2 separate regions of the Homo sapiens genome follow, and region 2 is linked to region 1. The links are contacts of gene promoters, found by promoter capture Hi-C in human tissues and cell types (Jung and others, 2019). All regions are on one chromosome and are shown on one strand. The core of a region is centred on a gene start or on the middle of the fragment in contact, and the rest is flanking DNA. Distances in the headings are between cores, read along the strand shown.

Region 1 (2,700 bases), core at 85-2,584:
TGAAACAACAATCCTAAAATTTACATGGAACTAGAAAAGACCCTGCCTGGGCAAAGCAATCTGAAGCAAAAACAAAGCTGAGAGCACCATATGCTGCAGTTTTAAAATATGTTATAAAGTTATTGTAATCAAAAGAGCATGGTACTCAGATAAAAATAGACATATCAACCAATGGAACAGAATAGAAACTTATTTCCAAACACTGAAATTTATTTATTTACTTCTTTTCATTATGTATCGCAATCAGAGAAGTGTATTTTGGAGCTTTAGAACTTCGAGAGATGAATGTGAAACAGCAACGAGAACCTATCTGTTTAACCTTGGTTTCTCTAATTGATTTCCATATTGTGATTATAAAATTACTCTCACCTTTCTCATTTACTTGTTAAAATTTTTTCTTCTCAGTAGGTGTTTTACTGCCTCCTTCACATCCTTGTTTCTAAGACTGTAGATTAAAGGATTCATCATGGGAGTCATCACCCTGTAGAATATGAATATAAGTTTGTCAGTGGCATCCAAGTCATCTGAATTAAGTGTCTCTTGAGACTTGGGCTTCATGTACATGAGGAAGATGGTCCCACAGAATGTTATCACCACAGTCAGACGAGCTGAGCAGGTAGAGGAAGGTTTGCTTCTCCCCTCCGAAGAGCTAATTTTGAAGATGCTCAAAATGATTAACGTGTAAGAGACAATAATTAATAACAAAGGTGTCAATAGGAACAATGTTGTGGTCACAAGCAGGATGAACTCATTGCCTGAGATGTCAGCACAGGCCAGTTTCATGACAGCTAGAATTTCACAGGTGAAATGATTGATGATGTTATTCCTGCAGAAAGGCAATTGTACCACAAACACTGTTTGTACTGCAGAATTGACAGCTCCTATGATCCAGGACCCAGCTGCCATGGGTACATAGGCATCCTTACTCATGATGATGGGATATCTCAGAGGGTTGCAGATAGCCACATAGCGGTCAAAGGCCATCACGCCCAGAAGCACACACTCTGTTGTCCCCATGGCCAAGCTGAGGAACATCTGCACTGCACAGCCAGAAAGGGAAATGGTCTTTCTTTCTGAAAGGAAGCTCACTAGCGTGGAGGGAATAGAGGTGGTGGTGTAGCAGATGTCCAAGAAGGAGAGGTTCCCCAGAAAGAAGTACATAGGGGTGTGAAGGTGAGGGTCCAAGATGCTGATTAAAATGAGAGTACCATTCCCCAGAAGGATGACCACATACATTATGAAGATGAGCACAAAAAAGAGTAACTCAAGTCTTGGGTGACCAGAAAGTCCCTTCAGAAAAAATTCCACCAGAATGGTGTGGTTTTCCCATTCCATTTTACTCCCTCTTTAGCTTGTAAGACAGAGCATGTTAAGACAAATATTTATCTTACTCTGATTACTTTCAAGCATGTGTCAATGAATATGTGCCATAATTCCCAAGGAAAAAGAAAAATAAAATGGGAAAAGACCAAAGAAAGAAGAGAGAGCATAAAGAAAAGTCTACAGAAAAGAGGGAATTATGAATGGAGAGAGGGAAGGGAATGAATGAATGAATGAATGAATGGAGAGAAGGAAGGAAAGATAAAAGTAACATGTTTCATGCTACAGCCACTTAATTCATTTAATATCATCACAGTTCTAGGAAAGGGGTATTAGTATCCATATTTTACAGATGAATAAATCAAAGCGGATATGTTAAGTAAACTTGACCAAAGGTACATACTATATAGCAGAGCTAAGATTCAAACCGAAATATTCCTGTTGAAGTCTGAACTTTTTGTCATATTTGTCATCACATAGTAAACTGAAGGTTATAATAGAAATGAGCATTGTATTATGTAAAACTGAACACTAAACTATTTTATTGGCTATAAATCACCACACAATAGATCAATGCTCTTGTCACTCCTTGAAATTATACTATGTTACGTATATTGTCTGTCTTTCCCAGTAGAATGTAAACTTCATAAGGGCAGGTACTTATTCTTGCTTATTTCCACAGCCCCTGTAGCTAGAATAGAACAGACACCGAGGTAAATGTTCAAAAACATTTGTTGGATGCACAGACAAAATCAAAGGCAAAACAATTGCTATATTTCTTACTCTGCGCCAACCCTCTATTATTTGTTTTCTCTGTGCATTACATAATGGAGTCTGAAAAGCAAGCCTATGAGGTAATACTGTTACTCTTAGTATCACCAAGCCTATTGTGTAGAGGGGAAAATAAGGCACAGAAAAGTTAAGTAATTTGCTTAAGGTCAATTTCATAAAGACAGATAAATGAAAGAGCAAGGACTTAAACCCAAGCAGTATGGCTTCAGAATTCGAGCTCTTAATACTCAAAACTTAATACTCAGTACTTAATAACTTAATGCTTAAAGAGAATTTGCAAAGAGAATTTGGCTCATGGGCTAGAATATCTTGCAATCTCACTAACAGTATTAATATTTCAAAAGAAATATCAGATAAAAATGTGATTGGTCAGTAAGGGGATTTCAATATGGTAATTTGATAGCAGTTGATTTTGATGCTTCATATTTTGCTAGAAAAGTACTCATTTCTATAACAAATGTTTTGTCACAGAGTTGCATTTGATCATTATAATTCTTGTGTCCTCCCTTACATGAAAATTTCTCATTTTCATTATGATGCCTCTTTGACTTTTTTTTTCCTTTATTCAACTCACAAGGGGTTTTCCTA
Region 2 (2,700 bases), core at 109-2,608, 42 kb after region 1:
ACAGATGCAATTCCTATCAAAATACCAATGTCATTCTTCAAAGAAATAGAAGAAACAATCCTAAGCTTCACATGGAACTACAAAAGAACTAGAATGATCAAAGCAACCCTGAGCAAAAGAACAAAGCCATAGGCATCACTCTACCTGATTTCAAATTATATTACAAAGTTATAGTAACCAAAACAGCATGGTACTGGCATAAAAACAGACATGAAGACCAATGGAACAGAACAGAGAACCCATAAATCACACATTTACAGTCAACTCATTTTATCTGAATAGGCATTTTTCAAAAGATATACACATGGCCATCAGGTATATGAAAAAATGCTCAACCTCACTAATCATCACGGGAATGCAAATTAAAGACACGATAAAAAATTATTCCAGTTAAAATGGCTGTCATCAAAAGACAAAAACAATACATGCTGACAAGGCTGCAGAGAAAGAGGATCTCTTGTATACTGTTTGTGAGAATGTAAAGTAGTACAGCCATTATGGAAAACAGTATGAAGGCTCCTCAAACAAATAAAAATGGAGCTTCTATATGATTCAGCAATTCCATACCTGGATATATATCAGGTATATATCCAAAATAAAGGAAATCAACATACTGAAAAAAAATCTGCACTCCCACGTTTATTGCAGTACCAATCGCAATAGCCAAGATACGGACTCAACCTACGTGTTCATTGATAAATTAATGGATAAGAAACTGTAGTATACACTGGCCCCACAGAAATACAAACAACCATTAGAGAATATTATGAACACTTTCTGCACACAAACTAGAAAATCTAGAAGAAATGGATACATTCCTAGACACATACACCCTCTGAAGACTGAACCAGGAAGAAATTGAATCCCTGAACAGACCAATAATAAGCTCTGAAATTGAGTCAGAAATAGTCTACCAACATAAAAAAAGCCCAGGACCAAACAGACTTAGAGCTGAATTCTACAAGATGTACAAAGAATAGCTGGTACCATTCCTGCTGAAACTATTCCAAAAAATTGAGGAGGATGGACACCTCCATAACTCATTCTAAGAGGCCAGCATCATCCTGATAGCAAAACCTGGCAGAGACACAACAAAAAAAGAAAACTTCGGGTCAATACCCTTGATGAACATCAATGTACACATCCTCAACAAAATACTTGCATACCAAATCCAGCAGCACATCAAAAAGCTTATCCACCACAATCAACTAGGCTTTATCCCTAGGATGCAAGGTTGGTTTGACACATGCAAATAAATAAATGTGATTCATCACATAAATGAATTTGACACCCCTTCACATTAAAAACTCTCAATAAACTAGGTATTGAAGGAACACACCTCAAAATAATAAGAGCTGTCTATGACAAACCCACGGCCAACATTATACTGAATGAGCAAAAGCTGGAAGCATTCCCCTTGAAAACCAGCACAATACAAGCATGCCCTCCCTCACCACTCCTATTCAACATAGTACTGGAAGTCCTGGCCGGCCAGGGCAATCAAGCAAGAGAAATAAATAAAGGGTATCCAAATAGGAAAAGAGGAAGTCAAACTGAGAGGTGAAGCCAGCTGGGCTTCTGGGTCGGGTGGGGACTTTGAGAACTTTTGTGTCTAGCTAAAGGTTTGTAAACGCACCAATCAGCACTCTGTAAAAACCCACCAGTCAGCACTCGGTGTCTAGCTAAAGGTTTGTAAATGCACCAATTAGCATTCTAGAAAAGGACCAATCAGCACTCTGTAAAATGGACCAATCAGCGCTCTGTAAAATGGACCAATCGGCAGGATGTGGGTGGGGCCAAATAAGGGAATAAAAGCTGGCTACCCCAGCCAGCAGCGGCAACCCGCTGGGGCTCCCTTCCGCTCTGTGGAAGCTTTGTTCTTTCGCTCTTCACAATAAATCTTGCTGCTGCTCACTCTTTGGGTTCACACTACCTTTTATGAGCTGTAACTCTCACTGTGAAGGTCTGTGGCTTCACTCCTGAAGTCAGCAAGACCACAAACCCACCAGAAGGAAGAAACTCCAGACACATCTGAACATCAGAAGGAACAAACTCCGGACACACCATCTTTAAGAACTGTAACCCTCACCACGAGGGTCCAGAAGGAAAAAACTCCAGACATATCTGAACATCAGAAGGAACAAACTCCGGACACACCATCTTTAAAAACTGTAACACTCACCACGAGGGTCTGCAGCTTTATTCTTGAAGTCAGTGAGACCAAGAACCCACCAGAAGGAACCAATTCCAGACACAAAACTATCCCTGTTTGCAGACAACATGATTCTATATCTAGAAAACCCCATAGTCTCAACCCAAAACATTCTTAAGCTGATAAACAACTTCAGCAAAGTCTCAAGATACAAAATCAATGTGTAAATATCACTAACATTCGTACACACCAATTCCAGTCAAGCCAAAGCCAAATCAGGACTCATTCCCATTCACAAATGCCAAAAAAAGAATAAAATACCTAAGAATACATCTAACCAGGAAGGTTAAAGATCTCTATAAGAAGAATTACAAAACACTGCTCAAAGAAATCAGAGAAGACACAAACAAATGGGAAAACACTCCATGTTCATGAATAGGAAGAATCAATATCATAAAATGGCCATATTGCCCAAAGTAATTTATAGATTCAATGCTATTCCTGTTAAACTACCATTGAGATTCTTCACAGAACTGAAAAAAAAAAAA

What was found. Contacts are between HindIII fragments. The study calls those that stand out against the background at their distance.
Region 2: a fragment that was not itself captured here is called in contact with the fragment with the promoter of OR13C5 in region 1 in 2 of the 25 tissues and cell types used here (H1 embryonic stem cells and thymus).

Annotation. Positions count from the first base shown.
Region 1 is chr9:104,598,079-104,600,778 of GRCh38, forward strand. It overlaps OR13C5 (olfactory receptor family 13 subfamily C member 5), which reads right to left and starts at 1,335. Exons shown (of 1, transcript NM_001004482.1): 1 at 379-1,335. The coding sequence starts at 1,335. The coding sequence ends at 379. The region is part of intron 3 of LOC107987105 (a long non-coding RNA gene); the gene reads right to left. The HindIII fragment of the contact is 7,392 bases long and covers 1-2,700 here.
Region 2 is chr9:104,639,863-104,642,562 of GRCh38, forward strand. All of the region lies in intron 2 of LOC107987105 (a long non-coding RNA gene), which reads right to left. Among named protein-coding and RNA genes, the nearest start is that of OR13C9, 23 kb to the left of the region's middle. The HindIII fragment of the contact is 5,330 bases long and covers 1-2,700 here.